Linked DNA regions of Homo sapiens: all the other regions are linked to region 1. The links are contacts of gene promoters, found by promoter capture Hi-C in human tissues and cell types (Jung and others, 2019). All regions are on one chromosome and are shown on one strand. The core of a region is centred on a gene start or on the middle of the fragment in contact, and the rest is flanking DNA. Distances in the headings are between cores, read along the strand shown. Region 1 holds the start of RASGRP2 (RAS guanyl releasing protein 2). Region 2 overlaps LOC124902690 (a long non-coding RNA gene). Region 3 overlaps PPP2R5B (protein phosphatase 2 regulatory subunit B'beta).

Evidence for each region. Contacts are between HindIII fragments. The study calls those that stand out against the background at their distance.
Region 2: a contact is called between a fragment that was not itself captured here and the fragment with the promoter of RASGRP2 in region 1, in 2 of the 25 tissues and cell types used here (hippocampus and thymus).
Region 3: a fragment that was not itself captured here is called in contact with the fragment with the promoter of RASGRP2 in region 1 in 1 of the 25 tissues and cell types used here (pancreas).

What each region holds. Positions count from the first base shown.
Region 1 is chr11:64,742,617-64,745,994 of GRCh38, reverse strand. RASGRP2 (RAS guanyl releasing protein 2) reads left to right here and starts at 1,853. Exons shown (of 17, transcript NM_001098671.2): 1 at 1,853-1,992; 2 at 3,058-3,201. The coding sequence starts at 3,129. RefSeq lists silencers at 737-936, 1,187-1,296, 2,287-2,336, 2,497-2,546, 2,857-3,186 and 1 more. The HindIII fragment of the contact is 18,641 bases long and covers 1-3,378 here.
Region 2 is chr11:64,493,324-64,496,701 of GRCh38, reverse strand. It overlaps LOC124902690 (a long non-coding RNA gene), which reads left to right. Exons shown (of 2, transcript XR_007062721.1): 2 at 86-1,254. Among named protein-coding and RNA genes, the nearest start is that of LINC02724, 46 kb to the right of the region's middle. The HindIII fragment of the contact is 6,812 bases long and covers 1-3,378 here.
Region 3 is chr11:64,929,611-64,932,988 of GRCh38, reverse strand. It overlaps PPP2R5B (protein phosphatase 2 regulatory subunit B'beta), which reads right to left. Exons shown (of 14, transcript NM_006244.4): 7 at 2,608-2,667; 8 at 2,400-2,508; 9 at 1,500-1,553; 10 at 1,380-1,430; 11 at 1,121-1,240; 12 at 97-224. Among named protein-coding and RNA genes, the nearest start is that of GPHA2, 4.6 kb to the left of the region's middle. The HindIII fragment of the contact is 3,170 bases long and covers 1-3,078 here.

The DNA.
Region 1 (3,378 bases), core at 604-3,103:
CCCCGCCCTACTGCGGCGTTTAAGGGTCTCTTAGCAGGTGGCTACACTGGATCCAAAGTCGGGGGAGTGTTACGGCAGGGAACACTCGCAGACCGCCTAGTCTAGGCCCTCATTATGGGGAAACTGAGGAACAGAAAGGTCCTGTTTCTAAGTCTTACATTACCAAGACTGAGGTGCGGGGGCGGTCCTGGATCCCCCGCCCCAAGGCTGGGAGGGGCACGCCTCGGAAGGGAGGTTTGGGGTCGGTGGTTTCACAGTGAGTGTGTCTGAAGCCAAATGGTCGGAAACCGTTACCCGCTCTCCTAGGCCCGGCTAGTGGGGACCCCAACCGCCTGCGGCTGCCCCTCCCAAGTTCCTCCCTGTTGGCCAGGCATCCAGGTCTCCAGTCTCCGAGCTGCGGAGAACCCACCGCCACATGCGGCTGCCCCTTTCCATTCGACCCTGTGGGGAGCCAGGCTTCCGGGGCCCCGTTCCTCCTGTGTGAACTGGGCCCCCCGCCCCCATTCCCAGACATCAAGGCCGCGTCTCCAGATAGCCACGATTTCATTCCTCGCTCCCCACAGGTCCCTCTCCCCAAAATATTCCCATCTTGTCCTAGCCCATCCCCCAGACTATCTCAAGGACCAGCTGTCCCCACGCCCCCGACCTCCACTAGGCCTGTGCCACCCGCTGCCTGCAGGAAGACGCCCGGTCCCGGGCCGGGTTAGCCCCATGGGAACGGTTTGTCTCGAAAACAGGAACCCGAGCTGGGGGCTGGGCGGGGCGCCCCTTCCCCACCGCAGTCCGCTTCCTGCCCCTCCCGGCTTCCTCCGCCCGACACCCAGGCAGGGCGGGGGGCACTGGGGCGTCCGCGGTTGGGGGAGGGGCTCTTCGTTTCGGTCCCCCCTCCGCGTCCCGGGCGGCGGGGCCTCCGGTCGCCCGCCCTCGGGGCAGCTAGTGGCGCAGCCCCCCGCCCGCGGCCCTGGCCTCCCGGGCGGCGCGGCAGGGGAGGGGTTAAGCTGCCGCAGGGACCGCCGCGTGCGGGGCGAGAGGGAGCCCCCGGTGGGGGTGGCGCAGCCGGCGGTGCGGAGCTCCGCGCAGGGGCGGAGGGGGGAGGGGGCAGCCTGGCGCGGGGGCGGGGGCGGGGCGGCGGGGAGCGGGGCCGCGGCGTGGAGAGCGGGCGGGAGCCGCAGCCGCAGCGAGGCCGGCGGGCGGGAGCGCACGGAGGTGGGGTCGGCCAGGCCGGTGCGGGCTCCTTGCGGCAGGTCCCAAGAGTGAGTGGGCGAGCGCGGGCGGGGCGCCAGGCGAAGGAGGGCGCGGCCCCCAGCGACTCCCCCCCCGCCCAGGGCGGCGCGGGCGGGCTGGGGGCGGCGAGCGGGTGGGGAGTCTGCGGCCCGGGTCTGGGAGAGGGGGCAGCGGCCACGAGAGCTAAGGCGCGCTGGATCCCCGGAGGGCGGAGGACCTCCACGGTGCACCCAGCTTTTCCCAGCCACCTTCCAGCGGGGCCCTCCCCCGCGTACCCCCATTTGGCAGATGAGAAAATTGAGGCTCCCAGAGGCCAAGTGATTCTCAAGGTCACACGAGGAAGCGGTAGAGCCAGGCGGGGACGGCTCTGGGTGGCTCTTAGGAAAAGTCCGCCTGAGAACTCCGTACAGGAGCTCCCCTGTCCTCCAGCCTGGGGGAGTGAGTATGTGTAGGGCCGGGGTACCTTTCCGTGGGGCAAGGCTCTGCCAAAATCTGGGAGTGAGGGGAGTCAGGGAGCTGGGGCCGCAGGGCGGGCCCTGCACCGCAAATGGGAGGGGGGCGACGGAATGGGCGTGCGCACCCATGGGGGTGTGTGCATGTGTGTGGGAGTGTACATGCGTGGAGAGGCACTGCCTTGCGTGTGTGCACACGTGTGAGGATGTCAGCGCCTGTGTGGCCGCGGGACTCAAGGCTGGCCTGGCTCAAGTGAACAGCACGTCCAGGAGGCGACCTCGTCCGCGGGTTTGCATTCTGGGGTGGACGAGCTGGGTATGTGTGCCTGAGGGTTTCTTCGTGCAGGTGTGCACAGGGTGTGGGTGCCATTGTGTGTGAGAGACGGAGGATGGGAGGCCGGTGCCTGTGGCCCGGTGCGTGTAAGTGCGGACGCCTGCACCTCCACTTAGGTCCCCGGCCTCCGACGAATAACTTGGGTGTGGAGTGTTTGCCCCTGCCAGGGTGCGTATGACCCCGCCAGTGACCGGAGTTGCTAATGGTGTCATGCACCCACCGGCCACCCTTGGCGCGAGCGCCCCCCTCTGGACACCCTGCTCCGTGCGCGCTCACAGTTCGCCTGTGCGGGGCCGGGGCCAGGGTCAGGAGCCGGGGATAGGGAGGAAGAGGGCCTGTGGACAAGCTGAGCCGGGACCCCTGGGACCTTTGCGGAGGTGGCCTGGGAGCGCTCAGTTCCCAGGCTCAGGCTTCCCGCTGACGCCTCCTGGCCGCAGCGGGCTCCCCCCGCCCCAGGAATGTTCCTCTCCCATCCAGTCCGCCTCCCCTAGGGCAGGCCCCCTGGGGGCTGCCGCAGCCCCGCCTCGCCTTCCTGGGCTCCCGGGAGGGGGCGAGGCGGGCAGGACGCCTGGGTTCTCTCCCCCCACCTCCCATACCAGGGAGAAATTCCTCCGAGGTCCCCTCAGGCTCTGGGTTCCCAAAATAACCCTGCGGGGGAAGGGAGGCTGTGGAGGGAGGGAAGCGGGAGGGGCGCAGAGCCGAGCTGCGGGGTGCTGCAGGTGCCTCTGGGGAGAGGGCGCGAGGAGAAGGCGCCCTGCGGGGGGCTGGGCGCCAGCCAGTCCTGGGATCTTGGTTCGTCCCCATCCTCGTGAAGCCCCTCGGCCTTCCCGCGACTCCGAGGGTGGGCCGGAAGCCTCTCTGCGGGTCCGTTTCCCAACTGGCGGGTTGCACCATCCCGGGCCAGACCGTTTAACCCCGGGAGTGGCCGCGGGGGACAACTCCGCCCCTGTCCAGCAGGGGGCGTGCCCGCCCCGCCCCGTTTCTGCCCGCGGGGCCGCTCCCCCGCCCGCGACTCCGCAGACTCCCGCTCTGCCTCTCCCGGGACAGGGGTTCGGTCCGAGCCCGGTGGGAGGCTCCCGGAGCGCAGCCTGGGCCCAGCCCACCCCGCGCCGGCGGCCATGGCAGGCACCCTGGACCTGGACAAGGGCTGCACGGTGGAGGAGCTGCTCCGCGGGTGCATCGAAGCCTTCGGTGAGTGGCTCGGGAGGGCACACGGAGCCTGAGCCTAGCCCCGAGTCTGAGCCCGGGTCCCTGCCTCCCAGGCACAGTCCAGGGCACAGCCCTGACCCGGACCCACCCTGCTCCGCAGCGTGCAGTCTCTTTAACGAAAGCCTCCTCCGCAACGCAGGGCAGAGAGATGCACGCCCT
Region 2 (3,378 bases), core at 496-2,995, 250 kb after region 1:
AAAATTAATTGTAGAAAACACTTGAGACCTGAGGGATGTAATTCTCCTTTAAAGATAATATTTCTTTTCCTTTTCTTTTTTCCAGGTACTGAGGATAATAACGATCTAGAATCATCTCTTCTTCTTCTTCTTTTTTTTTTTGGAGACAGGGTCTCACTCTGTTGCCCAGGCTGGAGTGCAGGGTCATGATCAGGGCTCACTGCAGCCTCTACCTCCTCGGCTCAAGCAATCCTACTTCAGCCTCCCGAGTATCTGGGACCACAGGTGCACACCACTATGCCTGGCTAATTTTTTAAAAATATTTTTTGTAGAGACCAGGTCTCACCATGTTGTCCAGGCTGGTCTCAAACTCCTGGGCTCAAGTGATCCTCCCACCTGGGCCTCCCAAAGTGCTGGGATCACAGGCATGATTCCACCATGCCCAGTCTAGAATCACCTTAATATAAATTCAGGGCTTCAGATTTTCGGAGCTGTCCAGATGATGAAAAGCTAAGATTATTCTATTTCCTTCCGTGTAGCCCTTTGGGTCCTAGCCTAAAGTGGGATAGGGTTTACAGGTTCCCATCTGTGATCTTGTGAAATATATATTTGGTCTTTTCCTGGCACACAACTCTTAAAATTCTTGGAATTTTCAAAGTGATGAGTGTCTTTTGTAGCTAATGAATTCACTGATGGCTGACAGCCCCTATGTAGCTTCAGGATGGTGGCTGGTCACAAGAAAGACCAAAGCAGGATTATATGATTAGGACTTTCATCTTGTCCCCCACCAACCTCTGGGGAAGAGAGAGGGGCTGAAGGTTAAATGGCCAATGACCAATAATTTAATCAATCATGCCTATGTAATAAAGCTTCCATAAAAACCCAAAAGGGAACTACTACTCAGCCATAAAAAGGAATGAATTAATGGCATTCGCAGTGACTTGGATGAGTTTGGAGAAAATTATTCTAAGTGAAGTCACTCAGGAATGGAAAACCAAACATCGTATATTCTCACTGATATGTGGCAGCTAAGCTATGAGGACACAAAGGCATAAGAATGATACAATGGACTTTGGGGACCTGGGGGGATGGGTGGGGGGGGGGGCGTGGGATAAAAGACTGCAAATAGGGTGCAGTGTATACTGCTTGGGTGATGGGTACACCAAAATCTCACAAATCACCACTAAAGAACCTACTCATGTAACCAAACACCACCTGTTCCCCAATAACCTATGGAAAAATATAAAATAAATTAAAAAATTAAACAACCCAAAAGGACTTGGTTCTGGGAGCTTCTGGATAGCTGAACACGTGGAGGTTCCTGGAGGGTGTGCACCTGGAGAGGGAAACATGCCCCTTCCCCATACCTCGCCCTATGCATTTCTTCATCTGTATCCTTCGTAATATCCTTTGTAATAAACTGGTAAATGTAAATAAGTGTTTCCTTAAGTTCTGTAAGTCACTCCAGCAAATTAATCAAACCCAAAAAGGGGGTCATGGGAACCCCCATTTATAGCTGGTGGGTCAGAATTACAGGTGGAACAACCTGGGGCTTTCGATGAGCACTGGAAGTGGGGGCAGCCTTGTGGGACTGAGTGCTCAGCCTGTGGGATCTGACGCCGTCTCCAGGTAGACAGCGTCAGAATTGAATTGGAGGATGCCTAGCTGGTGTCCTCTGCAAAGTCGATTGATTGCTTGGTGTATGGGGGAAAAGATCAAGCAGATCAATCAAGAAGTATTGCTTGTTGATTATCGAGTGAGAGAATAGGAAAAGCACTTTTGTTGGTTTCTGGTTGTTCTTTTTCCTATGTCCTCAGACCACCCTTTCCCGGCACTCTGACTTTTGTCCCCTTAGCCTGAAGGGACTATGAAAAACAAGGCCCATCTTTTCAGGTATCTCATTGGGATGGGAAAATGTCCTCAGAGCAAAGCGGCTCTGAGTACTGAGAAGCACATGGCATCATGGAAGTAGGTTGGTTACCTAGAAAAGATTGATCAAATAAGCAAAATATTGAGGAAAATGAAAGCCAGGTTTCTCACTGCCGCAGAAGTTACAGACACGGAAAAGGAGGAAACTGGAATGAACGCTGTGTGTTAGATTATAATTGGAGGGATGAACTAATGGTTTTCAATACTTATGGACAGATACAGAAATGAATATAGATATAATTGTGTGTGTACGTACATGTGTTGCTAGCTTTATCCACCAAGAAGGCCTGGATGCAATAACACCCCAACAGCAATGAGCGTGCCCAGCACTCAAATCTTGGTTTCTAAATACCATTCTCCCCTAAAAGCAACCAGGATTTCTTGGGAAAATGGCTGATTCCAGGGTTGAGGTAGGAAAAGCACAAGATAAACCTATAACATCTTTTGTGCCAGAGAGTGAGCATGTGCTCAAAAATCGAAGGAGATGAATTAAAAGGACAGAGGAGCCAGCTCTAAAGGGGTCCCGCTTGTTCTGACATAATTTGAACACCAAACTAGATAATAATAACATAACCTATTGGATAAAACAGAAAGCCATATAGATACTAATGAATGAATACATAAATGAGGAGAAGAAAAAATTTTCTTACAACAAAATGCCAACTAACAAACGTGGAAGAAATTATGGAATTAGAAAAGTTACCATTTGGTAATCATCATAGCTGTTAGTAATCAGTAATTTAGCCAAGAAGTATCAGTAGATGTTAATGCTGATGAGTGAAAGTTTGAACAGGCAGGAATATTTACGTGGTTTCGAGGTACTTCTTTACAAAACATTTGTTAAATACAAAGGGAAAAATAATAACTTTACGGTGGAGACACCTGGCAGATACCATTTTAGCCAAGTGACCAAAGTCACAGTCAAAGCATGATGTCCCATCACCAGTCATAGGATAAATCTATGTTGTGTTCTCCCTGATAGGATACAATGGAAAGAACACAGCCCAACTGCTATGATAGTCCTGCCAAAAATGCGTAACCTGAATCTAATCAAAAGGAAGCATCAGACAATCCTGTACTTGAGGAACATTCTACAAAATAACTGATCTGTGCTTTTCAAAAGCGTCAGGTCATACAAATCAAGAAAAGACAGAGAAACTGTTAGATTGAAGGAGACTGAAGAGATATGTCAACTAAATACAACTTGTGACCCAAGATGAGATCTTGTTGGTACAAAGGATGTTCCTGAGAAATTGCCTAAACATGAATGCAGGATTCTGTTGATTAGATGGTAGTAGTGTGTGAGTGTTAATTTCCTGATGTTGATGTTGCCTTGCTATGCAGGAGACTGTCCTTGTTGTAGGATGTACACCCTAAAGAATTTGAGATAATGGGCATCAGGCTGGTAATTAATTCTCAAGTGGTTCAGAAGGGGAAAGCATGCTATTTGTACTCTTCTTGCAATTTTCT
Region 3 (3,378 bases), core at 244-2,743, 190 kb before region 1:
CTGATATTCTCCAGCTAGGAGTAACCCTGGGGTCGGGTCTGGACTGGCTGGCCCTGGTCCCAGTTTCTGTGAGTTAGGTCATGGCCTGGCACTCACTGGTTCCAGTGCTCCTTGGAGACTTGGTAGAGGGTCCCAAACACAGCAGGCAGCACAGTGTGGCAGTTGTCCTCAATGAGGCTTAGGATATACTCATTGTTCCAGAAATACAGAGCCCGCTCTGCAACCTGGGGCAGACAAGATGGCAGAGTGATTAACTGGCAGTGGCTTCTCTCTGTGTGCAAGGTCTGGTGTCCATCACTACCTCAACGCCCAGGCCCCCTGACCTTCACACACCCCACCTTCAGGGCTTATCTGAGCCCTGGAGGAAGCAACAGTGTTGAAGGGAAAAGAGTTCTAGATACGGAATCCAATGCTGCGGGGTGAATCCTAACCACTACAGACTCTACTATGCCATGTGACCTTGGGAGAGGCATTTAACCTCCCAGCCTCAGTTTTCTCATCTGTAAAATGGGCTAATAATACCTATCTCAACAGGATGTTATAAGAATCAAATGAGATACTAGACTTTTAGGTGTTTAATGAACCGAAGTGCCAGAATCACTGTGAGGAAGACTTGACTTCCACTGGGTTATGGCCCATAAGAACGGGAGGAAGTCTGCACATGCTTGCAGCAGAACATGAGTTAGTTAGCTGGGTTGGTGCGGGGAAGCCTGGCTGCATCCCAAAGCGAGTCTAATGAAATCTAAGGCCACTAGCAAAAGGGGAAAAGTGATAACAGTCCTCCATCACATTCTGGATCACACTTCAGTTTACCAAACATGTTTACACTCACAATCTCTTCCATCCTTATCCCCACCCTGTGAAGAGGTTGTTGGCCCATTTTACAGCTGCGGAAGCTTAATCAGAATCAGAGTGGTGCAGTGATTTGCTCAAGGCCCCTCAGCCAGTGGAAGGCAGGTCCGAGGCTTCACCCTAGGTCTCCTGACCCTAAGTCCAGCATCTCCCCATTACCAGACCCGGGATTGGAGGAGAAACTGAGGGCAAAGGGAGCTTTATTAGGTCAGCTACCCAACCTTTCCAGGCCAGCCCTGCTCCCATCCCCGCCTGTCCTGCCTCATACCTGGAAATGGGGGCTGGAAACACAGCGAGCCACCTGCTTAAAAAGGGGCTCCTGGATCTTCACAAACTGGGAGGGCTCGATGACATCAAGAATCTCTTCCATCTCCCCCAGAAACATCACCTGGGTGGGTTGGGGAGGGGAGTAGGGACAGAGGGGCAGCAGCTCACATCTCCCCCTACACATACACACACCTGACTGCCTTCTAGAGGCCGAGCCCTCCCAGCCTCCCTCTGGCGGGCATCAAAGCCCTTCTTCATACCTCCTTCTGGGTGCAGGTTTTTGGCCAGTATTTGAGCAGCCCCCGGATCACCTGTGGGAGATGAGACAGGAGTCACGCCTGCAGAGGTGAGAGGCTGCCTTAGCCCCCAGAGGTACTCACGTGCTCTGTCAGAGTGGCATCCTTCTCCAGGAACTGCACCACACAGTATGCCAGCTGCAGGGGGTGACAGGTGGAGGGAAGGAAGACAGGTCAGGAAGGCACCAGGCGCCAAGGACTTGCTGTCCAGGACAGAATGCCAAATACTGCTCACCCACGGCCTGTTACTTTCTTATTCACCAAGCATTTATCACCTGCCTAGGATGTACCAGGCATCACATTCAGTGTGCTGGGAATACAACTCTGATCTCGCGGGGAGTGGGGACAGTCAACAAACTCATCTTTATAAATTTTGCAAAAGGTTCCATAATATGGCTAGTGTGGTGGCTCACGCCTGTAATCCAAGCACTTTGGGAGGCCGAGGCAGCAGAATCACTTGAGCCTGGGAGTTTGAGACCAGCCTAGGTAACATAGCAAGACACTGTCTCTACAAAAAAAAAATTTTTTTTAATTAGCCAGGCATGTGGCACATACATCTGTGGTCCCAGCTACTCGGGAGGCTGAGAAGGGAGGACTGCTTGAGCCCAGCAGGTAGAGGCTTCAGTGAGCCATGTTCATACCACTGCTCTCCAGCTGAGGCAACAGAGTACGGTTTTGTCTCAAAAAAAAAAATTGTGTATCAAAATCTCCCATAATAGATTTGTGTATCCAAATATTTGGGAATATAGATGGAGAAGAATGTAATTCTGCCAAGGGAGGGTAGAGAAGAAAAGCCTGGCTTCACAGAGCTGATATCTGAGGTTAGCCTTAAAGCGCCAGTGGGAATTTTCTAAGGTAGATGGAACAGAATTATAAAGACAAAGAAGGTGAGATAGGATCCCTGGAGGATCTGACCTCCAGGACCCACTGGCTGCCCTGACTGTCTGGAGCTCCTGCTGCAGCAGGGACAGGCCTGGGCCTCACCTGGGCATGGAAGACAGACAGCGACTTGACAGAGTGCAGGGGGATCAGGACGCGAACCAGGAACTGCTTGTGCTCCGTCTTCAGGGGCAGCGCAAAGCCATTGATGATGCTGAGGAGGAGGCAGAAGAGAGGAAGAGGGCTCAGGTGACCTGGCCCCAGTCCCTCCTTCCAGAATCCTGAGCTCCAGCTGAGGCCCAGGGAGAATCACCTTCCTAGGATCTCCAGCAGCTCAGCCACACCATTGAAGTGCTCGAATTCATAGATGAACCTGCAAGAGAAGAACGCAGGTGGGCTCAAAGCAAGCAGGGTAGGCCCAGTGCCCCCTTAGGCATCCTGCCTGCCCACCCTCACCTGCACGGCACGCTCATCCAACTCTCCCCCAACCCAGAGGCTGCGCTCCCTTCCCAACATCCCAAACCAGGCCCCATTGAGATCCCCGCCCCCCCACACTGAAATGCCCTTCTCAGCCCAGCCACCTCTGCCACTGAGTCCCAAGCTCAAGGCTCTCTTGCCAGTCAACCAAGAGAATGACAAACACTTAGCACATCTACTCCGTACCATGTAAGTCTCAGAATTATCCAGGGAGATGGGGCTTAAGAAATCCATCACATGGATGAAGAAATCAAGACTCAGCGGTTAAATAAAACAACCCCAATGTTAATAGGCAGGGAATCTAATGAACTCCAAGGTGCAGGAGGACAGGGATCATGGCTCACCCATTTTGTAGCTAATAACAACTAATGTTTCAGAGTCCCGGCCTCAGTCCAGGAGCTATGCTGAGTGCTTTGCAGGCAAGGCCCCATGTCACCTCGATAATGGTCCCTGAGTTAGTACAAGCAGCATCCCCATTTTTATCTTATCTTTGAGATGGAATCTCGCTCTGTCGCCCAGGCAGGAGTGCAGTGGCGCAATCTTGGCTCACTGCAACCTCCACCTCCCAGGCTCAAGCGATTCTCCTGCCTCAGCCTCCTGAGTAGCT